7 separate regions of the Homo sapiens genome follow, and all the other regions are linked to region 3. Evidence: promoter capture Hi-C in 16 types of primary human blood cells and fetal thymus (Javierre and others, 2016). All regions are on one chromosome and are shown on one strand. Each heading gives the region's core, a stretch centred on a gene start or on the middle of the fragment in contact. The rest is flanking DNA. Distances are from core to core; before and after follow the strand shown.

The links. The method cuts DNA at HindIII sites, captures the fragments that hold promoters and counts their contacts. A CHiCAGO score of 5 or more calls a contact.
Region 1: a contact is called between a fragment that was not itself captured here and the fragment with the promoter of RAN in region 3, in 4 of 17 cell types (naive B cells, total B cells, endothelial precursors and 1 more). The highest score is 7.5, in naive B cells.
Region 2: a contact is called between the fragment with the promoter of MMP17 here and the fragment with the promoter of RAN in region 3, in 1 of 17 cell types (monocytes). The highest score is 5.2, in monocytes.
Region 4: a fragment that was not itself captured here is called in contact with the fragment with the promoter of RAN in region 3 in 3 of 17 cell types (endothelial precursors, total B cells and naive B cells); the score reaches 9.2 in endothelial precursors.
Region 5: a fragment that was not itself captured here is called in contact with the fragment with the promoter of RAN in region 3 in 1 of 17 cell types (M0 macrophages); the score reaches 5.2 in M0 macrophages.
Region 6: a contact is called between a fragment that was not itself captured here and the fragment with the promoter of RAN in region 3, in 4 of 17 cell types (total B cells, naive B cells, fetal thymus and 1 more). The highest score is 11.2, in total B cells.
Region 7: a fragment that was not itself captured here is called in contact with the fragment with the promoter of RAN in region 3 in 3 of 17 cell types (total B cells, endothelial precursors and erythroblasts); the score reaches 6.8 in total B cells.

Annotation. Positions count from the first base shown.
Region 1 is chr12:131,761,677-131,765,024 of GRCh38, reverse strand. It overlaps SFSWAP (splicing factor SWAP), which reads right to left. Exons shown (of 18, transcript NM_004592.4): 12 at 339-569. Among named protein-coding and RNA genes, the nearest start is that of SFSWAP, 52 kb to the right of the region's middle. The HindIII fragment of the contact is 2,006 bases long and covers 553-2,558 here.
Region 2 is chr12:131,826,510-131,829,807 of GRCh38, reverse strand. It overlaps MMP17 (matrix metallopeptidase 17), which reads right to left and starts at 1,415. Exons shown (of 10, transcript NM_016155.7): 1 at 1,155-1,415. The coding sequence starts at 1,313. RefSeq lists a silencer at 1,421-1,550. The HindIII fragment of the contact is 25,913 bases long and covers 1-3,298 here.
Region 3 is chr12:130,870,601-130,873,966 of GRCh38, reverse strand. RAN (RAN, member RAS oncogene family) reads right to left here and starts at 1,901. Exons shown (of 7, transcript NM_006325.5): 1 at 1,841-1,901; 2 at 1,338-1,383; 3 at 1,047-1,131; 4 at 839-964. The coding sequence starts at 1,373. RefSeq lists enhancers at 40-109, 1,338-2,099, 2,597-2,676, 2,100-2,861 and silencers at 1,387-1,596, 1,647-1,786, 1,857-2,316. The HindIII fragment of the contact is 6,850 bases long and covers 1-2,968 here.
Region 4 is chr12:131,736,575-131,740,080 of GRCh38, reverse strand. All of the region lies in intron 7 of SFSWAP (splicing factor SWAP), which reads right to left. Among named protein-coding and RNA genes, the nearest start is that of SFSWAP, 27 kb to the right of the region's middle. RefSeq lists an enhancer at 2,347-3,506. The HindIII fragment of the contact is 752 bases long and covers 1,679-2,430 here.
Region 5 is chr12:131,498,190-131,501,626 of GRCh38, reverse strand. All of the region lies in intron 1 of LOC101929974 (a long non-coding RNA gene), which reads left to right. Among named protein-coding and RNA genes, the nearest start is that of LINC02414, 150 kb to the left of the region's middle. RefSeq lists an enhancer at 1,983-2,032. The HindIII fragment of the contact is 1,083 bases long and covers 1,267-2,349 here.
Region 6 is chr12:131,705,332-131,709,031 of GRCh38, reverse strand. No RefSeq gene overlaps it. Among named protein-coding and RNA genes, the nearest start is that of SFSWAP, 3.9 kb to the left of the region's middle. The HindIII fragment of the contact is 5,398 bases long and covers 1-3,700 here.
Region 7 is chr12:131,781,956-131,785,316 of GRCh38, reverse strand. The region is part of intron 14 of SFSWAP (splicing factor SWAP); the gene reads right to left. Among named protein-coding and RNA genes, the nearest start is that of MMP17, 45 kb to the left of the region's middle. RefSeq lists an enhancer at 1-610. The HindIII fragment of the contact is 2,853 bases long and covers 599-3,361 here.

The sequences.
Region 1 (3,348 bases), core at 306-2,805, 890 kb before region 3:
AGACAGGCTGAGCCTTTTACCCTGGGGCTGCCAGCCAAGTGCAAAGTGAGCTGCCATTAATGCATTCCACTGTGGCGCATTAGAGCTAAGACGGCCAACTCAGTTTCTTCGAAAACAAACTGCCAGCGGCACTGCATTTGAGGCTCAGTGAAGAGCAGAGCTCATTCCTCTAAAAGAGAACGTTTCAAAACCTCAGACATGTTACACAACTCCCAAATAGGTCGATTTCCAAAGGCTTCAGATTCTAGTTGGCAGCCTCGAGATTTTTTGGCTTAGCAGATAAATCTTATATTTGTGTATTTCCTTTCTTTCAAGAAGTTTAAAAGCTATCAACAAACCTTGCTTTGCTTCTAGCTCCTCCTGGGTAAGTTGAGGCTTCTTCTCCTCAACAACTACACAGGGTGGGGCAACTGCTGGGTTAGTGTTTGCAGCACTACTAGAACTTTCTTGGCCTTCTTTGCTTTCTTCATCATCATCACTGTCATCATCTAGCTTAACACGATTTTTTTCCAGGGGAAGCAGATCATTTTCTTTGGCCTTGATTGCAAAGCTTATTGGAGCAAAGGAAGCTATTGAGGAAAGGTGAGAATTATGATACATGTTACAGAGTGGAAATCTTTGCAGGCCCTGCTACCCACCTGAGCATCGGCTGCTGGGAAGGGGATGACTAGCATGGAGCCACATCATATGCAGGGTCTACGGTGGGGGACGCCGTGCCGTCAGAGCAGACCTGTGCAGATGTGCACTGCATGGCGTGGGGCTGGGGTGAGCCCCTGAACCATGCTGTGAGAACCGCACTGACTGGGGACTTCATGGCAAGGGCACACTCGCTGATGCCAGGGCAGTCACCTGCAATTTTAAATGGCCAATTCTTGTCATTTTTCTTTTCTTTTCTTTTTGAGATGGAGTCTCGCTCTGTCGCCCAGGCTGGAGTGCAGTGGCACGATCTCGGCTCACTGCAACCTCTGCCTCCTAGGTTCAAGCGATTCTCCTGCCTCAGCCTCCTGAGTAGCTGGGAGTACAGGCGCCCGCTGCCATGCCTGGCTAAATTTTTCTATTTTTAGTAGAGATGGGGTTTCACCATGTTAGCCAGGATGGTCTTGATCTCCTGACCTCGTGATCCGCCTGCCTCGGCCTCCCAAAGTGCTGGGATTATAGACGTGAGCCACTGTGCCCGGCCTCATTTTTCTTTAAAAAAAAAAAAAAAAATTCATGGCTCAGCATATATCTAAATTTGCTTCAGGAGGCATATGATGTGACTCCACTATAAACAGGTCTCTTTAAAAAATTCCCCATGATAAAAAATAGCCTTTTCTTACAAAGCAAAAATTACAGAATCCATGCCTTTATTCAGCAAACATTTTTACCTACTTTGTGACAGGCATTATGTTAGACCATTTTCCACACCTGTAAGAAAATGTCAAACCCAGCGTGACAGAAGTTTAGAAGCAATCCCTCCTCTTAGAATATCCAGAAGGCTTAAATTTAAGGGAAATATGGAGGCCCTAAAGAAAAAATCATCTTTCCCGCCCCACCACTCAATGAACACAGAGTCCCTTTCTCTTTCAGATGCTGTGATAAATGGCTCTTGACAAGAGCTAACTGGTTGCAATAAGATACAGTATTTTAAAAAACCATCAGTTGTTATTTATGAAGAATATTCAAGGCACCCACAATGAAGGGGATGCTAAGTGCACCGCAAACCAGGTGACTGAGAGGGAAGTGGGTTCTGGGTAAACAAGGCCGCTTCTGGAAGGGCTGCAACTTATGTTTGTGATGCCACCTCTGTAGCACAGGGTGGGCTACCTGGCTGGCCCCTGGCGGAGGTCCTTCCGCTTTAGCATTTTATGGCTCCAAACCCGCGTGTGATGTGAAGTAGACAGTTAAGCATGTGATAGCCCAGACCCTCTGAAATATAACCACTTTTCATCAACAACTGCCTCAGGGGACAGGGCACACACAAAGATACTGATACCGGGACAGCAGTATTTTATAACATCAAAATAAAAAGCAGCAGGGCCGGCAGCTGAAGCCAGATGATGAGCACGTGTGTGGGGCGTGAGTGGTCATTATGTGATATTCTGTTTTCGTACATGTTTGAGATTTTCCATAAGAAAAAAAAAATTGGCCGGGTGCAGTGGCTTACGCCTGTAATCCCAGCACTTTGGGAGGCCAAGGCAGGTAGATCACAAGATCAGGAGTTCAAGACCAGCAGGGCCAACACGGTGAAACCCTGTCTCTACTAAAAATACACAAATTAGCTGGGTGTGGTGGCGGGCGCCTGTAATCGCAGCTACTTGGGAGGCTGAGACAGGGGAATCACTTGAACCCGGGAGGCAGAGGCAGAGGTTACAGTGGGCTGAGATCACGCCACTGCACTACTCCAGCCTGGGTGACAGAGTGAGATTCTATCTCAAAAAAAACAAAAAACAAAACAAAACAAACAAGGGGCTGGACTAAAATATATCACAAAATGATTTAATAACAATTATTTCCAAACCATCTCCCCAAATTAGAAAAATACGCAATCAACAAATAAGAGTATTAAGATGAAAGCTTCCAGAACACCTTCTAGCAATGCTTATTTCATTTTACATTTTATTTTATTTTTTTTGAGAAAGGGTTTCACTGTGTTGCCCAGGCTGCAGTGCAGTGGTGCAATCATAGCTTATTGCAGCCTTGACTTCCTGGCCTCAAGCAATCCTCCTGCCTGAGCCTCCTGAAGTGCTGGGATGACAAGCATGAGCCACCGTGCCCAGCCTCAAGTAGACTTTTTTTTTGTTTTTTTTTTGGAGACGGAGTCTCGCTCTGTCGCCCAGGCTGAAGTGCAAAGGCGCGATCTCAGCTCACTGCAACTTCTGCCTCCCAGGTTCAAGCGATTCTCCTGCCTCAGCCTCTTGAGTAGCTGGGATTACAGGTGCTCGCCACCATGCCCAGCTAATTTTTTGTATTTTTAGTAGAGATGGGTTTCACCATGTTGGCCAGGCTGGTCTCGAACTCCTGACCTCAGGTGATCCACCTTGTCCGGCCTGTCAAGTAGACATTTTAAAGCTAGTATCTATGCAAACCAAACACAAAGCCAAAACCACAGCTACTCACTCTAAGAGTGGCCTATGGCACACAGCCCACAGGCCTCCCTTACTCAGCCTTTACAGCTCCACAGGATGGACACTGAGAGGCTTCCCATTTTACAGATGGGAAAACCGAGGCTGAAAAGATTAACTAAGTTTCTCCAGGTACCTCAGGTCAGTACAGGGAATCAGGAATTGCTTCTTTATGTGGAATTTTTCAATCACAAAATTGTTGCTTCTGCCTAGAATCTTCCTTGCAGATCACGTCACAGCACAT
Region 2 (3,298 bases), core at 166-2,665, 960 kb before region 3:
CCCATCCAGACCCCCTGGCCAAGTCCTGCCAACCACAGGGGCTGCGGGTGCCACCCAAGTGGCCCCTCCATATGCCTCGACTGCCTGAAATACACCTGCGCTGACTTGCTTGGACCCCAAGGTTTTGGAGCTCCTGAATGTCCACTGCGCTGGGCGAGGGGCCCTGCCAGGACCCCACTGGGAGACTGTCCGCGGACGAGGGCCAGGCCGAGTACTTGTGTGGGGCGGGGAGGCCTCGGCTCCTGGCCCGACTCCCTGGGTAGGAGTCCATTGAAGGCAGCGGTGGGGCAGGAGCCTCAGAAGGAACCAACGAACCCAGCGGGAGTTCACCCGGCCGCCCCAGCGGGGGGGCGCTGACCCCACGACGTGTGCTCTAAATCTTCCGGGTCCACAGGAGACGCGAGTCCCGGCTGCGGAACAGGGGAGGGGGCTGTAGGAAGAGGCCACGTCGCTGCCCCCAGGCAGGGTTTCTAAGCTGAGCTGGGGACAGCTACTGGGTGTGGAGTGAGGAAGGCTCTCCCCGCGCCCCCGGCTCAGCACTGTACCAGGGCAAGGCAGGGCCAGCCTGGCCGACCTGGGGTGGAGGGGAAGGAGGCTGAGGGCCAGGTCCTTGTCCAGTGGGGAGCTGGGGGCCAGCATCCCTGTGCCCCCAACACCCTCAACCGAGCAAACTCGGGGGCTCAAGGCTTTCGGGGTGCCCCCACTCCGTAGCCCCTGCCCTTCCTCGCTTTGTGGGTGCGTGCTCCTGCCCCCGCCACTCCCACCCGGAACGCACGCAGCGCGCAGAGCTCGGGGCGGCCGCGATGCCTGCTCTCGCCCAGCCCGGCTGCTCCGGGGCTGCTGCAAGCCGGCGACCCGGGCTCCGGGTGGGCGACCCCCTCACAACTCCACGGGCTCCTGCGGCTGCGGCGCGCTCCCAGCGCACGGAGCCGGGACGGCAGCCGGCGCCTCCCCAGGACTCGCGTGCGCTCGCCCGGTCGCTCAGCCCGCGTCCCTGCCTCAGTCTCCCCACCCAGGAAATGGGTCCAGGGCGCCAGGGCTCCCGCGCGACGCCGACGTGCACTGCTGGGGTCTTCCCGGTCCCCGCCACCCGGCCCGCGGAGACCCCCGGCTCCGGCCCAGGAGCTCCGCGCCCGTCCCGCCCGCGCGCTCACCACTCCCAGGCTGAGGTCCTCGGCGCGCGGCGCGGGTGCGGGCGCGGCGCAGCCCCCGCGGGTCCCCAGCGCCAGCAGCAGCAGCAGCGGCAGCGGCAGCCGCGAGAGTCCGGGCCCTGGGGGCGGCGGGCCGGGTCCCCGGGCTGCGCGGCGCCGCATGGCGCTCACATGGGCCCGCGGGCGGCGTGCAGGGTCCCGCGCCCTCCGCTTCGCGTTCCGCAGCCCGGCGCCCTCCGCTCTCCGCGGCGCCCCCGCCGGACTGAGCCCCGCGCGGCAGCCTCAAGCGGCGGGGCGGGGCCATGCAAATGTATGCTAACGAGGCCGGCCGCCTTAAAGGGCCCGCGCCGCCTCGGACGCTGCCACCCCCGCCCGCCCCGCCGTGTCCGCGACGGGACTGGGTCCGCGGCATCACAGGGAAGGCGTTTCCCCGGGTGTCTTAGGACGCTCTTGGGGCGGCGGGGACGCGCGGGATGGGCGCGGAGGCGGGGGTCGGGGCGCCTGCGGGGAGCTGACCCTGACTCCCCTCTCCGGCCGCGCTCCCGGGTCCACCCCCCACGGCGCCGAGGCCCGGGTTCAGACCCGGGTTCAGGCCCCGGAGCCGCCGCCGCAGCGCAGCAGGTGGGCGCTTGGTGGAGCCCGCGGACCGCGGGAGAGGGAGGGTGGGGCTTGGGGGGCGCGGGGGACTGGAGGGCGAGGGCGGGTGTTGGGGGGGCTGGGGTCCTCGGCGGAGGCTCTGCGGTCCCTGCGGGCCTGGGAGCGAGAATGTTAACTTGTAATGTTTGTTGGAGCGCAGCGTGTGCCTGGCACATGCCCAGGAGTTACATAAATAATTTCATTTACTTACAACATTTATGAGATGAAAACTATGATTTCCATTTCGCAGACAAAGAAACTGAGGCCCAAAGAAATGAAGTAACTTATGGGAGGTCCTGGAGCGGGCAAGCGGCAGAGCCAGGGTCAGAGCCCGAGCAGGCGCTTGTGTGGATTGAACTCGTGCAAGTTGCGTACAGGCTGCCCACCGAGTGGGAGATCTTGGGAGAGGGCAGGGGGTGAGGTTCAAGGGTAACCCTTGCCTTTATTCAGCTTCTCCTCGTGCTGGACAGCATGGCTTCCCCTCCTTCCCAGGCCCTCCTGCTCCACCACCCCAAATCGCAGCTGGTACTGTCAGGACTGAGGTCTCATTCTACGGACAGGGAAACTGAGGCTCGGCCCCTTTTACCAGAACTGGTCTCAGGGAAGTGGTGCCCCTCCCCTCCTGTGAGGGCCGACTCCCCCCAACCACCCCCCCCCCCCCCCCCCCGCTTCCCTGGGTACTCTGGCCCATCCTGTCCCTGCTGCCCTCAGAGCCTCCCTGGCCCGGTCTGAACAGGGTGATTCCACACCTGCTTCAGATGACCTTGGTTCGGACTGATGGGATCACCTGTAGGAGGTGGGGACTTTCACAGGACATCCCGGATTGTTTTTTCTTTCTTTCTTTTTTTTTTTTTTGCTCTGTTGCCCAGGCTGGAGTGCAGTGGCACGATCTTGGCTCACTGTAATTTCTGCTTCCTAAATTCAAATGATTCTCCTGTCTCAGCCTCCTGAGTAGATGGGATTTCAAGCGTGCACAACCGTGCCCAGCTAATTTTTGTATTTTTAGTAGAGACGGGGTTTCACCATGTTGGCCAGGCTGGTCTTGAACTCCTGACTTCAGGTGATCAGCCCGCCTTGGCCTCCCAAAGTGCTGGGATTACAGGCGTGAGCCACCGCACCTGGCCTCATCCGGGATTTTGACCAAGTGCATCAGGACAACCTGGTTTCCAGAGCAGAGACCCAGCCAAAGCGGCTGTAGTCAAGGAAAGGAAGCGTATGGGTATGGGCTCAGGAAACGGTGGCGTCCTAGCGTGTGCCAAAGTCAGGCAGGGCTGGACCAAGTCTCACAGCAACAGCGTCAGAACGCGGTTTCTCTCAGTCCATCTCTGTGTGGGGCAAAGACGGCCCAGGGCAGCTCCTGTGCATCCTTCCCCCTCAGCAGGCCCAGCCAGAGACAGACTCTTTCTCAACCAATGGTCCCAAGGCCACCTCTCTCTGGATTCTGGGTCAGGACCTGATCGTGGGGCCAGGGGCAGGGAAGTGAGCTGAAGCCCTGGGCTGGAAGGGATTCT
Region 3 (3,366 bases), core at 652-3,151:
CTGAGGTAAGAGGATGGCTTGAGCTTAGGAGGCGGAAGCTGCACTCCAGGTTGGGCAACAGAGCGAAACCCTGTCTCAAAAAAAAATTAAATAAATAAATAACCCAGATAAAGCCTATATATTCACCTGCAGGAATAACTATGGTACAGTTAGCAAGGCAAGAAACCACAACTTTTTGGTTAAAGGATTCTTTTGGGGGAAATTCTTGTGTTTATTTGTACATGCTCAAGGAAAGCAAAAGGCATGGAATGATTCCAGATAATGTGTTATCGGCAACGTGAGGTTCCAAGAGAGATGAGTATTTTCTTGATTCCTCTTTTTGGTACAATGAACATTTTCCTTGCAATTTTTAAATCAAACTATTTGAGAAAAATACTCTGCACAACTTAGTACAAACAATTTAACAAGAAATCAGCTAGTCTTGTATAACACTTGTTAAGATCTCCTATCTCCTCTGGTCTAGTATCTGGTGTTTATTGTTTTCTAATACAGTAAAAACATTCATTGATCACCACACCAAAATACATACATGAACCTAAGTTTCCAAATACTGAAACTGCTGTTAACAGCCTATTATTGTTTTAAATATGACTTATAAGTCCCAGTGTAAGTCATAGTTTTTTCTAAAGCATGCCTAGCATGACACAGCATGCAAATGACACAACTTTAATAAAATTTTCTCTGCCACCAAAATGGTGGTCAACTCCCCGAAGTCCACTTGTCTTTTTTTAACCCAAAAATGACACTATTTGTTGGAACAGACCTGATTTTCTATAACCTTGAAGACTGAAGTACACAAAACCTCTCAAAAACCGTTCAGCAAGTTACAAATGCCTACCTTGGATATAATAGCCATCTCTCAGTCCACCGAATTTCTCCTGGCCGGCTGTGTCCCATACATTGAACTTAATAGGTCCTCTGTTGGTGTGGAACACTAGGGGATGAACCTCAACACCCAAGGTGGCTGAAACGGAAACGATGCGATTGAGTGGATGAACTTACCCATTTCTCACATATTTCCACAAGCAAGGTTTTCCAGCACATACCTACATACTTCTTCTCAAATTCACCAGTCAAATGACGTTTCACGAAGGTCGTTTTTCCAGTACCACCATCACCAACCAATACAAGCTGTTGAAAAACACATTTTGGAAGTAAACCCTAAACACTTCACCTCTCAAGATCCCAGAGTCACGGAACTTTAACCACCACAGGCTCACTTAAAACAAAGAATGTGGATGCGGGGCCCCATTACAGCCATCGTGGCCCCAGGAGGAGGGACCCGCGAGTCGCACGCGGTCGGGCTCGGCCGCCTCCCGCCCCGCAGGGTTACCTACTTTGAACTGGACCTGGGGCTCTCCCTGCGCAGCCATCGCGGCGTTCCTGCGGAGGCAGAGGACGGAGGCGAGCGCTCGCGCGGCCCCGCAGCCCATGGCGGCCCCGCTCCCGCGCCCCCAGCGCCCCACGTGCCCGCCCCACAAAGGCCTCCCGCCCGCGGCGCCATGGCGGCCAGGCCTGGGAGCGGGAAGGCGGCGGGCGGGGCCGGCATCCGGGGCGGCGGGGCCCGGGGAACGGCGGCCGGAGGTGTAGGGATGGGAACGGGACTGGGACCGGGACGGGGATGAGAGCGGAGGATGAAACGGGGGTTCGCGGGGGCTAGCGCCGACCCCACGCCCGTCTCCTGCCCCGGCCCGGCCGGGCCCGCACCACCCACCTACTCAGCCGCCCGCTGCCCCTGGGTCCGCCACCCGCCCCGGCCCTGGCCCCGGCTCCGACCCCTATCCCGCCGCCGCCACCCCTGTCCCCGCCCGGCCGTGCCGGGCCCGCCGGGTCGCGATACCTTCCAGAAGCGTCTCCGCGCCCGTCCGACTGAGGCTGGAAAGATGGCGGAAGCGCAATTCAAACGCCGGAGACGCAGCCGACGCCGGCGCGAGAGCAGGGGCGGGGCCGGCGCGGGGCGGGGTTGCAAGGGGCGGGGCAACGGCGCGGCGCCCGCCCACGTGGCCCGCGCGTGCGCGCACGCACGCAACGCGGTTCGGTCGGCCGCTCGGGCGGTCGCTGCGCTTAGGGTGGGGCGGGAGGCGCGGTGGACCGCGTGGGAGGGCGAGCCGGGAGCGCGTACGCAAGCCGGCCGGTGGGGACCGCGTGCGCCGACGCCCCGGGCGGGCTCCCGGGCGCGCATGCGCTGAAAGCGAGGCGGCGCGCCCCTGAGCGGGAGACGTTGGGCGCGGCCCGACGGTCGCGGCTCTCCTGCCTCCCGGGTGGGAGGCGGTACTCGCTCGGGCAGACGTGGTCAGGCACGCGGCTTCCAGGCGCTGGCCAGCCTGTCCTTGTCTGTGCCCCGTGGGGTGGGGGTTCTTGAGGTCCTGGGGCTTAGGGTGGCTCGCGTGCGCGCAGGACGGGTGGGTGACAGAACGAATGAATGAATGAATGGGGTCTAGGCCCGTCCTCCAGAGGCAGCCCGCTGTTCTGTCTCTCCAGATCGTAGCCTTCACGCCCCCAGGACCAGGGCCAGTTGGAGAGCGAGGAACCAGAGAGGGATGCACCCACCCAGAAAAACGGCTACTTATTTTTTTTAAGAGACGGAGTCTCGCTACGTTGCCCAGGCTGGTCTCGAACTCTCAGGCTCGGGCGATCCTCCCGCCTCAGCCTCCCGAGTAGCTGGGACTACAGGCGCGCACCACATCAGGGGTAATTTTTTAAAAATTTTTTTGAGAGACAGAATCTAACTATGTCTCCCAGGCTGGCCTCAGGGGATCCACCCGCCTCGGCCTCCCAAAGCGTCCGGCTTCTCAAAGCGTTTCATAGGTTGGCAGCTTTGGCCGCTGCATGCTACAGACAAAATGATGAAATACTGTTTGCAGTCTGGACGCGTCTACCAGCCCTAGTTACCAACGGGGACGGAATGAGTAAGTGCTCAGCTTCCCAGCCCCCTGTTGGCCTGAAGCTGTAAGAGCCCAAACAAGCTTGAGCTAGAGGGACCCGACTTCCTGGGCGCCCCTGCCGACATGCAGACAGATAAAGGCCCAAATCAGCGCAGTCAAGCGCCTCAGAAGAGTCCACCATGGGGAGAGAGCCGCAGTGACCGAAGAGTCCTCCCTGCAGTCCTGAGCACACTTGCAGGCGAGTCCGCTAGGAACCCCAGTGACGCAAATTAGGCACAAAGCAGGCGACAACCGGCCTGCTGGGAACGCAAGTCCGAGCTCCCCCAGAACCCTCAGGGGAACCCCAAGCACCTCTCAGACGCTGCTGGCGGGAGAGCAGAATCTAACAGTAAAACGGGAATGCCCATTGCTTGTGACCCCGGATTTCCATTTCTAGGGAGAGGCCCCAGAGTTAAACTCATGCCTCACGCATGTGCACAAC
Region 4 (3,506 bases), core at 805-3,304, 870 kb before region 3:
GAGGCCCACAGCATTACCCAAGAGTTTTATACCCAGACAAGCCGTCCTGTTCACATAAAGGTCAAAGGCAGGCATTTTTCGACAGGCAGAATTCATGAACTACAGCCCTTGTAAAAACGTACTTGTTTATGAAATTCAAATGATCAAGAAAAGATGAATCGAATAAATAACTCAAAAGGAGAAGCTGTAGGGAAAAAACGAATCCAGTCAACCATAAAACTAAAAGTAAGCAACTGGGGGCTGGGCGCAGTGGCTCATGCCTGTAATCCCAGCACTTTGGGAGGCCAAGGCAGGTGAATCACGAGGTCAGGAGATTGAGACCATCCTGGCTAGTACAGTGAAACCCTGTCTACTAAAAATACAAAAAATTAATCGGGCATGGTGGCGGGCGCCTGTACTCCCAGCTGCTCGGGAGGCTGAGGCAGAAGAATGGCGTGAACCCAGGAGGCAGAGCTTGCAGTGAGCCGAGATTGCGCCACTGCACTCCAGCCTGGGAGACAGAGCAAGACTCCATCCAAAAAAAAAAAAAAAAAAAAAAAAAAAAGCAACTGGGGAATAATAGAATGCAAATACTATTTATAAACTCTCATAATATAAAAATAATATTTCTATACTTTAAAGGAACCAAAGTCATAAATATAGTATATTGACTGTCCTACTCACTCTTAAATATATTTCTATATCAGCATATTCAAATCATTTTAAATGGTTACAAAACTAAGAAGCACTCATATCCTAGCGGTGGCAATGCATATTGACACAATGTTTCAGAAGGCAACTGCTCAGTCACTGGTAATACTTTAAACAAATGCACATACTCTTTGACCTAGCTGTTTATTTTCTAAGATTTTTATCTTGCATATAGAATTATACCACATTAGTGCTTAAAAGTAATAAATAATTGGCAGGGCACAGTGGCTCATGCCTGTAATCCCAGCACTTTGGGAGGCCAAGGTGGGTGGATCACTTGAGCCCAGGAGTTTAACATCAGCCTGGGCAACATAGCAAGACCCTCTAAAAATTTATCTAAAAAGTCAGCCAGGTGTGGTGGCACATGCCTGTGGTCCCAGCTGGTCAGGAGGCTGAGGTGGGAGGATAGCTTGAGGTTGCAGTGAGCCAAGATCACGCTACTGGACTCCAGCCTAGGTGACAGAGCGAGAGACCCTGTCTCAAAAAAAAAAAAAAAAAAAAAAAAGAATAATGTTCATTACAGCACTGGAAAAGTAGAAATAATTGGAAGTCACAAATAATCAAATTATCAATTAATGGAGGGCTGTTTCACAATAAATCTATACAACAGGATACTAGGTAGTTGCTACAGCTAGAAGAGAGAGATACACATGCACTGTTAATACAAAGATGTTCGAGATATATTAAATGCAAAGAAAAAGTTGAATAATTCTAACAAAAATCAGGAAAAATACACAGCTTTAAAAAATATCTACAATGACAACCTCTCAATGTTCTCCTAACCTTTTTTCAGAACTGAATTCTTTAGGCATAAAAGAAACTTTCATCCGAAGTTCGACAGTTACTTCATTTTTAGATTGCAGGCTCTTCTGTTTAAGTAAAATTAAGTTTATTTCCACTTTAACGTAAGTATTTCTAGAGACACATCCAACATTTTAATTGATATTCGTGCATAAAGATGATCTTTGTGTTCCACAGATAACAAGCTTCTTTCTTTCCTTTTTATTTAGCACGATGACCTCAGTGTTTTCCACTTTGCTAATGATGTTCACTAATGGCTATTTCTGGATGGTGGAATCCTGGGTAACATTTTTGCTTTCTTCCTTCTTCTCTTGACATACAATAAAACCATTTTTAAAAATGGGTTTGGAAAGTAAGTAAAGAACTTCAAAGTCATGATGTGCAGGAAAAATATACCATAAACAGCAAAGGCACATTTAAAAAACAGGGATAGAAGCAAGAAAATATCTATAGTAGCCATGCGCAATGGTTTAATTTCACTTCAGATATTTATAGAATATTAAGAAAAACTGAGTTGGCATTTTATTAAAAAAAACCCACAGGCTATCACAGTGGGCAGCATTTCACTATGACTGCCTCCTGCATAATTACTTTTATTTATTTATACTCTTCTATAAGGATTTATAGCTAAATAGCAGAAGACAAGTAATGAAAAATAAAGAGCATGAAAAGTAGTTCATTGTCAGGAAAATTAATAAATGAAATAAATTGTTAGTTTTACACATCTATATTTAATGAGCTTCTAGAAAAATTATTTTATACACATATTTTATATATATATAAAATTCTGCTGGACTTTAAGGAAAAAAATAGATGCTTTTCTTCCCAGGCTGCCAAAATGTAGGAAAATCTCCATCAGTAGGAAGTAAATAAGAAAGAACGACTGAGTATATCCTAAGGTGATTATTAAATACCCAGCGTATGAAAGCCAGAAAAGCTTAGTGACCCAGCAGCCTCCCACGAGACACAGCAGTACTGGGTATGCAAGTCTCTACGGGGGAAAGATGTTACGGGGGCCACTTCCGCCTAAACAAAAACACACTGAGCTGATGAAACAAAATGATAAAAGCACGTATTATTAAAATACAGAGTTGTAAGGAATTAACTCAGGATACCAGTTTAGTCTCAAAATAAGTACCACGTCAATCTGCATGTTTTGAGAGGGTGACGAGTCACGCTGAAAAAATGCAAGCAGCGCAAACGGGCAGGTGAGTCAGCCACTCCTGTCTGCGACCTCGTCCTTCCAGTTCCCCTCTCTGTGCTGGCCACTGGTCCTTCTTACCTGCCCTTTTAGGTGCCGATACAGAAGCACTACAGACACTTCCCTCCCCTTCTGACGTGAACAGACTGCCTCGTGCTGCCCTCCCCTTGAGTCACCTCGCCTCCACCCTCAGGAAGAGCCATTCCGGTGGGTGGCCCTGCAGCGCTCGGGCCCTGGCCCACCCCCAGAGCTCTGCAGCCCACCGCGAGAGCACACCAGAGGGACTCCATTAGTCCTCCACCGAGGATGTGCGTCGCCTCAGTCTTTTGCTACTACTAAAACTGTACTATGATGAGTATCTATGTGGCTATGTTCACCCATATACTAGTAAATGAGAGCAGACATCCTGGGTTGGAGGCACGTGTGTTTTAGACTGATAGACTGCCCGCTGGCCCTCCACAAGTACCACATCGCTGGCACAAATCTACACCCCCACCGACAATAAACGTCTGTCACCTTTTCTCTGCTTGAGTGACAGCTGAAAAATGGCACTCCATTGTAGGTTTTGTCTGCATTTCTTTTATTTAATCTCTATTATTAAGCTACCCAAACTCGCATATACAAAATAACATTCCAACAGCCTAGAAATCTCCGTCTTCTCCTAAGTCTTAGACCTGCACAGTGTTCTGTATGCCTATGAGTGCGCTCCTTTCTACTGTAACACGAAGCCTCACATCCTAACATTCGCTGGAGCTGAGCTGAACCAAAGCGCTGGAGGGGTGTTTACTACGGATTTCAGGTTCTACGGTCGGCG
Region 5 (3,437 bases), core at 559-3,058, 630 kb before region 3:
CTGATCTTGTGCTGCTCGATTTTGTGGGAGAGTACAGTTGTCCCTCAGAATCTGCAGGGGATTGGTTCCAGGATTCCCCGTGGACATCAAAATCTGCAGATGCTCAAGTCCTTTATATAAATGGCATAGTATTTGCAGATAATGTATGCATATCCTCCCATATACAGATGCTCTTCAACTTCTGATGGGGCTATGTCCTAATAAACCCATTGTAAGTAGAAAATTTCATTTAGTCAAAAATGTGCAGTTAATAATACCCTGATAAACCCGTGGTAAAGTTGAACAATTATAAGTGAAACTGTCGTAAGTCCGTGTGCTTGTCTATTTACCATGGGGTTACATCCCAATAAACCCACCATAACTTCAAAAAATCATAAGTTGAACCATTGTAAGCCAGGGACCATCTCTACTTTAAATCATCTCTAGATTACTTGTAGTGCCTAAGACAATGTGAATGCTGTGTAAACAGTTGTTATACTGGCTGTATGCAGTGGCTCATGCCTGTAATCCCAGCTATTCAGGAAGCTGGGATGGGAAGATCACTGGAGACCAGAAGTTTGAGACTAGAAGTTTGAGACCAGCCTGAGCAATATAGTGAGATCTTGTCTCTTAAAAGAAAGAAAAGTTGTTATACTTTATTGTTTAGGGAATAATGGCAAGAAAAAGAAGTCTGTACACATACAGTGCAGATGCAACCATCGTAGGCCTAACTACATTCTGTATCCGAGGTTGGTTGAATCTGTAGATGCAGAACCTGCGGTTACATAGGACCAACTCTACTCAGAGGAGGGCCTGCATAGAGTAGGCCCCCAGTCAGCGCGGGTGGTCATGATTAGGTAACTTGTGACAGGGCGCGTGATTTTTAAGTTTCTCTGTGGGTTGGGTTGTCACTCAGTTCACTGATACCTCTTCAGGCGACCTCCCCTGCTGGTCTTGTATCTCTAGAACCCCTTTCTTATCTGAAGGGTGTGTCATCTGTGGTGGGTTTCGGGACCCCCCCCCTTGTGACTGGGCACACCTAACCAGTAACTAGTAAGCAGCTGGGCACGGAGAGGAACCCATCAGACCATCACTGAGCATCTTCTGTGTACATCCATAATGCCAGGTCCTCACCAAGCACCTACTATGTACGTAACTGGTGCCAAGCCATTATTGAGCACCTACTGTGTACACTCACAGTGCTAGACCATCACTAAGCACCATCCAATGCCAGGTAATGACTGGGAACCACCATGTACATGTACAGTGCCATGCCATCACTAAGCTTGTCGTGTACATCCATGATGCCAGACCATTGCTAAGCACTTACTGTAGACATTCATATTCCAGGATCTCAAGGCATGATGATAGTGGGTCTGGACCCTCACTGGCTCACATCCTGGCCTTTCCTCTCCATCCTTACTTTAACCCGGTCAAGAAGAACAGCCTGGTTTCTGATTCATCATGTATCAGAGACACATTTTCAAGAATTCCATTCATCCAAACATGTAATAGGTTCGAATTTTGAGCCATGCAAAACTGAAACTTACAGTAATAGCTAATACTACCTCCAAAATAACTGCACAACATTCAGTCTTAGTCAATTGTAAGTAAATGTGGTTATATCACAGTTGGGCTCAGTCAGTTCAGGAGCTCCCTCTCTCCATCTTTTCTCTGGGAAGGCATGAGTCTGATGCATCTGGCTTCTGGCCCATCATCTCCCTCCCTCACAGACCTCTGGAGAAATGTCCATCATAATCTGGTCCTTGCAAATTGATGGGTGGATGGACAGATGGATGGAAGGAAGAGAAGGAGACAGCTCAGACTAGTTATGCCAAATGCACTGAGGGCCTCCCCACAAGCCCCACTCAGGGTTGCCTGGGAGGGTATTAATCATCTTCTCTCCCAGTCACTTCCTCTCCTGGCCAGACTTAGAAAGGTGAAGACTGACCTCACACCAACCACAGCCTCACTGTCACCTGAAACATCTTGAGCAAATCAGCACAGCAAAGAAAAAGGAGCTTCCAGGTCAGACACTGGTTTCTCCCCTAGTTACTCTGAAGGAGCCCCAGGGAGGATTTGAAAAATTAACAATAGAGAGTTAAGTGGGTGAACTGCTATGTTTTTTTTTTTAACAAATGGATAGAAATGAGATGAATTAAAATAGAGTGATATCCCTGGGTGGTGTTTGAGGAGTAGACACACTGTTGGTGCATGTAGAGAATGACTCAGGCTGTAGATTATAGTCTTGGCTGCACATAAGAGTCACATGGGAAGATTTAACAACCCTGATTTCCAAACTGTGCCCCAGCCCAATTACATCAGGATCTGTGAGAATGAGGCCAGCCAGGATCCAGTCATTGCAAAGCTTCCCAGATTATTCCAGTGGACAGCGTCTTTGAGAGCCACTAGTTTAAAGTCCCCTTCTTATTGGGCTCTGGAGGTTTCTGTCCCACCCAGGCCTGGGTGCAAGGTGGGTGGGGTATGGGCGAATGTTGGGGGAAGTCTACAGCTCTCCTGCTTCTGGAGCTGCTGCCTCCCTTGGGCCATCCTTCTTTCCTCCTTCCTCTTCAAAGCCATGGTCTCAGTTAACAGAGAACCTGGAAAATACTCTCTTCTTGGTGCTGAGTTCTCCTCAATAGCCGAAGTCCTGGATGGGCCTGAAGAGTGACATTTGTTTGTTGGACATTCAGTCTTCACATTCTTCTTCCATATCTGGGTCTACATTCCCTGCCAGATCCTCTCCCCCAGTCCAGGACTCCAGATGTGACTTTGCTTTGGGCTCCAGGGAATGGGTCATGCATCCTAGCCTGGATCAATCAGAGCTTCCATTTGGGCCACAGTGATGGGTTCAGGAACAAGCATGCAATTCAAGCAAGGACTCTGGCATCCAAACAGAGGAAACCCTGGTCTTCTGCTTGAATGGCTGAGGAAAGGTGGTGGACCTTTCTTGAGATTTTTGAATCATAAACTGGAGGATGGTAAGGTTGGAGTTACTGGACAGAGCTGCTTTGAGAATAAAGGTAGCACAGAGAAGGAGAGCAGAGACTGGACTCTGGTGATGTCACCTGGGCACTTGGATCAAGCCAGGCCTGAAGTCACCACACTTTCCAGGTAAGTGCACCATTAATGTCTCTTCTCATTTATGCTGGCCTGGTTTTGGTTTGCTGTTGCTCACGACAGAAAGGATCCTGACAGATGCGATGGTCTTCAGGTTCTCATGATCTGGCTCTTGTCCTGTCCAACTCTAGTTTCTTTGCAAACCATGCAGCATCTCCTCTTGGGGCTCAGATCACTTGGAGGGATCTTAAAGAAGTTCAGCATGGAGCCAGATGGCCTGGTTCAAATTCTGGCACTGCCGCTTATGAGTTGTATAACCTTAGGCAAGTTACTTATCTGTGCCTGCTTCCATATCCTCCTCTACAGTATGGGAATCATGATTGTACTAGGTTCATTAA
Region 6 (3,700 bases), core at 1,000-3,499, 830 kb before region 3:
TCGGGATCTCTTATCTGTGGTGTAAGTGAGGAATACGCAGTAGAGATTTCATCCACCTGGGCAACTTTCTGAGCTTTGGGGGGATTGGCTCACAGTGAGTCCTAGTCTTCGTCTCCTACCACCTGTCTATAGGTAATAAATGCACTACATGTAAATTGTTGCTTATGAGAATTCAGAACAGGTTGGTAACCAGTGCCCGTGGGCCTGCTTCACACACTGAGCCATTTGTGCTCAGGGCTTCTCACTGCACATTTGGAGGCCGCCACTTGTAGGCCCTGCTTGGATACAAACTCTACAACTTGTGTCAAATTCTTAAAGTTTATTTGAGCATTTTTGATCTGAGCTGGGTCCAGAAGTTACAACAGAAACTGGGACTGGATCCAGTACAAGGCCTATGGGAGCAGGACTGAGTCCAGTAGGAGGCTTATGGTAGGAAAGGGTATGAGAATACAGGGAATGATGCCTTCATTTGGATCCAAGGAGTCTGAAACTCCTCCACCTGGAACTCCAGCCAATTTCATGTATAAGAACCTATGAACCCAGAGTCTGCACTTTTCCAGAGAAATGGGTGAACCTACCAAAGGTAATCTAAGAGTTAACAGTGGTCAAAGTGAGGAAGTTTTAACCTAGATAAAATTGTTCACTTGCAAGACATTAGAAAAGAAAGGATATTTGCAGGACTAGGTCTGAAAGGAATAAAATAAAATATTAAGAAAGGACAAAAAACACCTCAGAAACAAAAGGATGTATTTTGATTGACATGCAGAGGCTTCTAAAAGGTTAAATGAACCAAAAATTGCCTTTCTAAATGACTTCTTACAAAAAGCAAATGAAAAACTTAAGCAGCTAATTTATGAGAAAAAAAATTGTATTTTGATGTATTGAACTCACTGTACATTCTATCTTTCTATCCTTCTCTGCCTACTCAGAATCTCCTAACTTCTTATCTCAGTTACCTTCCTACCCCAAAGACAAAAAGAAAGCTAAACAAATGCCTTATATAGTTAGGCCCTCAGATTAATAAGTCTGCTTCTTTAATCACTGTTATGCCTTGTTCAGAAATCTTTTGAGTTCAGAGCAACAGTGAAAGGTTTCAAAGGAAAGCCCCCAGAAATTTTCTTGGAGGTAAAAAATTCTCCTGGAGTATATGATCCATGATTCCTTGATCTTTCCCAATTTATTCATATGATACTGGGACTGGTGATACTTGAAAATGGATGGCTGAGGTCAAATGGGAGGTACTTGAGAAAGATATCAAAGATCTAACCATTCAGTCTTTCAGGGATGGACTAAAAACCGGCTAGGGAAATCTCATATGTCAAAATAAAGATCACAAGATCTTAAATTTGGAAAGGAGAACTTTATTTCTGAGAAGAGTTGCAACCCACAGCCTGGGAAGCAGACCCTCTGGCTGAGACAGAAAGTAGGCACTTTGAAGGAAGAAGGGTGGGAGAGGAGTTTTATGCTAAACAGGTTGGCTAAACATACATATTTAATAGGTTATAGGAGGAGCTATGAATATTTGTGAAAGGGGCTTGCTAGGTTGTGTGGTAAGCAAACATTCATGTTACATGGTCCCAAGTTCACTTCAGGGTGGAGACTTCACATTAAAATGTAATACAATTAGTCTGTGTAGGTCAAAAGGTGAAACTTAGGATTGTTTGAGTGTGGAAGGTCAAGGCTGCAGTGAGCTGTGATTGTGCCACTGCAGTATAGTCTGGGCGACAAAGCAAGACCCTATCAAGACCTTGTCTCAAAAAAATAGGTGAATAAATAAGATTAAAGAACTGTAAAAACCTAAGAATAAACATGCAAATGTGTGTTTTGTAAAATTGTTTTCAACTGACACATAATAATTGTACATATTTATGGGTACAGTGTGATATTTCCATTGCATGTATACAATGTGTAGTGATCAAATCAGATAATTAGCTTATCTATTGCCTCATTTATCATTTATTTGTGCTGAGAACATTCAAAATCTGCTCGTTTAGCTATTTGAAACATACTATAAATTGTTAATTATAGTCACCCTGCAGTGCTATGGAACACTAGACTCATTCCTCCTAACTAGCTGTACTTTTGTATTTGTTTTTTATTTATTTTTATTTATTTATTTATTTATTTATTTATTTATTTATTTATTTATTTGAGACAGAGTCTTGCTCTGTCATCAGGCTGGAGTGCAGTGGCACCATCTCGGCTCACTGCAACCTCTACCTCCCAGGTTCAAGCGATTCTCCTGTCTCAGCCTCCCAAGTAGCTGGGACTACAGGTGTGCGCCACCATGCCCAGCTAATTTTTGTATATTTATGTATTTTTAGTACAGATGGGGTTTCACCACGTTGGCCAGGATGGTCTCATTCTCTTGACCTCGTGATCTGCCCGCCTCGGCCTCCCAAAGTGCTGGGATTACAGGCGTGAGCCACTGTGCCTGGCCGACTACTTTTGTATTTTTTAATCAACCTTTGGCTATGCCCCCTTCTCCTGACACTTCTCAGCCACTACTAGCCACTATTTTACTCTCTACTTTTATAAGATCAACTTTTTAAGCCTCCACATATGAGTGAGAACATACAGTATTTATCTTTCTGTGCCTGACTTATTTCTCTTAATAACCTCCAAGGTTGTCCATGTTGCTGGTATGACATAACTTTATTCCTTTTTTTTTTTTTTAAGACGGAGTTTCACTCTTGTTGCCCAGGCTGTAGTGCAATGATGCGATGTCGGCTCATGGCAACCTCCACCTCCTGGCAACCTCAGCCTCCCAGGTTCAAGCAATTCTCCTGCCTCAGCCTCCCTAGTAGCTGAGATTACAGGCATGAGCCACCATGCCTGGCTAATTTTGTATTTTTGGTAGACATGGGGTTTCTCCATGTTGGTCAGGCTGGTCTTGAACTCCTGACCTCAGGTGATCCACATGCCTCGGCCTCCCAAAGTGCTGGGATTACAGGCATGAGCCACCGTGCCCAGCCCAGAACTTTATTCCTTTTTTGTGGCTAAATAGTATTCCATTATGTGTATATACACTGCATGTTCTTTATCCATTCACTTGTTGATGGAGAATTTTATGCTGGAGAATGTTCCATGTACTGATGAAAAGAAAATGTAATCTTCAGCTATTAGATGAAAGATTCTATAAATGTCTGTTAGGTCCATTTGATATAAAGAACAGTTTAAACCTAATGTTTCCTTGTTGTTTTCTGTCTAAATGACTTCTCCAGTGCCACGAGTGGGGTGTTGAAGTCCCCAGCTGTTATTGTATTGGAGTCCATCTCTCCCTTTAGATCTAATAATACTTGCTATTTATGTATCTGAGTGCTTTGGTGTTGGGTGCATGTATATTTATTATATCCTCTTGCTGAATTGATCCTTTTATTATAACATAATGACCTTTTCTCTTTTTACAATTTTTGCTTTACAGAGTCTGTTTTATCTGATATAAATACAGCTAATCCTGCTTGCTTTTGGTTTTTGTTTGCATGGAATATCTTTTTCTATCCCTTCACTTTCAGTCTATATGTGTCTTTAATGGGTGTAGTGAATTTCTCGTTGGTAGCATATAGTTTTGTCATTAAAAAAAATCCTTTCAGCCAGTCTATATCTTTTTAGTGGGAGAATTTAACCTGTTTTAATTCAAGGTTATTATTAATATGCAAGGACTTATTCCTGTCATTTCATTGACTGTTTTCTGGTTGTT
Region 7 (3,361 bases), core at 776-3,275, 910 kb before region 3:
CCTTTAACGGACAGAATCGTTTTGATTTTTTCCCAGACCTTTCCTAAGATTTACAGAACAGATGATAAAGGCGAGGTCAGTTAGACACCTTGACGTTTTACCAGGTTTTCCCTCAAAAGAGCTCGCGGAGTCAAATCTGGTGGTGGTCGAGGCTGCCTGATAACTTCCTGGCTCGGCTGCCGCTGTCACTGACGCGCTGCTCTGACAGGGCTCCGCGCGCAGCGTCCCTGGGGAGGCTGTGACTCTGTGACACGGAGGCACACACTTCACATTCAGAATAAAAGGTGCTGGGCTGGGCGCTACCAGAACTCTGAAAAAAGCTCTGCTTATTCAAAGCTATAGCGGCTGGGGAATGCTTACACGTAGAATTCTACAATAAACTCAATAATCAGGAAAAATAAGTTAGTTTTTAAGGCCTGCAAATTCTTAACTTTGAAATACAATACCATTTTGTCATGGCTATTAGTAATAGAATTCTTTAAAGGGAAGTGGCTGTTACCAGTAGATTTTCAAGTTATCTGGGGAAAACGCCCATCTTAGAACGAGGGGCTACATACCATTAGACAATTCTCTAAGTTTGACTTTAGCTAAAGAAGCTTTAATGCTTTTTATTCTGTTAATTAGGCTTCTCATATTGACCCCACAACATGGTGCAAGAAACAGGAGTTCCATTTAATAAGCAAATCATCCGTATAATGTGACCAGGGGCCTTCTTAAAGATGAAATGGTCTGAATTAAACACTTGCAAGCATAACGTGACTCACAGTTTTTTTTTTTCCTCAAAAAAGCATAATGGTTTGCTTTCAAATAGAAACATAATGAGACTTTTTTCAATGATAACAGTCCAGAAATTTTATCTGAATGACAGTGGTCATATTCATAAATAGCCTCTTTTCTCCAACATTTAACCATTTCATCTACTCCACTTCCTCCATTCACGTCTCTACCCACGGCCTTTCTGTCACGGAATTCTCTGTGCAGATGACTCAGCATCAAGGTCTGGGCTCTACCAGCAGCTCCCGGGGCTGAATTTTCCTCAAGTTGAAACTGGATCTGATTTCACCTGCAATTCCTCCTCGTGTCCCAGCCCGGTGACAGCCACTGCAGCTCCCCTCCTTCCTGGACTGCTCAGTGCAGACACCCTCTGGTCTTATCTGTGTTTGGCTACAATTCACTTTGATTCACTTTGCAAGGGATGGAACGACGGTCCTCACCTTGGCATGATCAACACTACCACTTGGGGAACTGCAAGCATCTGGTTTCCCCCTTTAAGGGGCAGGATTAGGAGATGAGTCATCGCTTTTACGGATTTGCTATGCAATTTATTGTGGGTAAAAAGGGCAGTGAGGAGCCACAACTTTCAACCTAAAATAGAAACCCAGTGTGGCCTGAGTCCCTTCTGAATGCTAAACAAGACTCCTAAGAAAAGTCTTCCAAATCCCCAGTCTCCTTCACCAACCCCAAGTATTTAGGGAGCTAATTTCTACAAAGAATTATATATATATATATATATATATATATATAAAATGTTTTTTTTTGAGACGGAGTCTCACTCTGTTGCCCAGGATGGAGTGCAGTGGCGCGATCTTGGCTCACTGCAAGCACCGCCTCCCGGGTTCACGCCATTCTCCTGCCTCAGCTTCCTGAGCAGCTGGGACTATAGGCACCACCACGCCCGGCTAATTTTTTGTATTTTTAGTAGAGACGGGGTTTCACCGTGTTAGCCAGGATGGTCTCAACCTCATGATCCGTCTGCCTCAGCCTCCCAAAGTGCTGGGATTATAGGCGTGGGCCACCACGCCCGGCCAGAAATATATTTTTATCATATAGCTCTCTATACTGGAAGATATCTTAAAATGACAACATTCAAAGATCTATCTAGAACTCCCAGAAGCCCAGGCTAACTCTGAAGATGCATTTAGATAACTAAATGAACACAAGAGACTATCTTAGCAAAAGTTTTAAAAATAAACTTAGTTTCAAGCTGATACTTATTAAAATTTAATTTCAGGTTGTAAATGAACTACATGAGTACTTCTTCATTCCATTAACATAGAGAACCAGATACAATATCAAAATACAAATGAAAACAGACAATAAAAGTATTTTACTTTAATCTTTTTTTTTTTTTTTTTTTAGACGGAGTCTTGCTCTATTGCCCAGGCTGGAGAGCAGTGACACGATCTTGGCTCACTGCAATCTCCACCTCCCGGGTTCAAGCAATTCTCCTGCCTCAGCCTCCCGAGTAGCTGGGATTATAGGCGCACACCAACACGCCTGGCTGATTTTTGTATTTTTAGTAGAGATGGGGTTTTACCATGTTGGCCAGGCTGGCCTTAAACTCCTGACCTCAGGTGATCCACCTGCATCAGCCTCCTTAAGAGCCGGGATTATAGGCGTGAGCCACCGTGCCAGCCTCAATGTTGATGTAAAAGACACTAAATACTACCTTGTCGTAACTAGTATACTTTTTGAGAAGCAACATAGTGATTTTCCAAAACTAAAGATTCTTCCATGACTAATTTGCCTTTGGAGATCCAGAGTCGCCCATAACTTAGACATACTAAATACATGGGACTTCAACCACAGGAACAGTATAGCCATTAAATAAATATTCGTTGTGCTGTAAGAAGGCTTTCTAATCTTAACTTTCTGTATTTTATATAGAATTTTAGTAATTTAATATATAAAACAAAATACATTCCATGTAGCATCCTACCCAATTAGAAATATTAACAACTGCGGTATTCTACTGTGGGCTGGCAGCAGTCATGAAAAATGATCAATTAGGTCTGTTCAGGCCCAAGTGACAAGTCCGATCCATTCTGAGTGGAGGCTGCGTTTGTAACAGTTTATTCTATCTGATAACAACAGCATTAACACTTTCAATATTTTGGTTAAAATTTAGTTATCTTTTATACTCCAATAATTCATATTACTGAGGAGATCACCACCCCTCCCATTTCTAACTTGCATTTTAAAGCCACTTGGATCCCTGGAAATGATTATTGCTGGCAGAGCTTGGATGGAGGAGGCAGGTTTGCAGCCAGTTTAGAAAAATGCAATCCTACTAAATAAAACACGCACTCACTGTTCCCAGAAGAGCTGAGGCAGAATTCCACAAGAAAAGGTTATGGTGAGAAACCACCAGCTTCTTCTTCTTCTTGTTCTTTTGTCATAGAGAATATGTTGATCAGGCTAGATTCGATCTCCTGGGCTCAAGGAATCCTCCTGCCTCTGCCTCCCAAGCATCTGGGGCTTGACTAGCTTGTTTAACTTATGTCCTCAGACTCCAGAGACCACGGCACTGCCGGTCTCTGCACCCAGCTATGCCCTTGGCCCTGTGGAGGGGAACCAATGC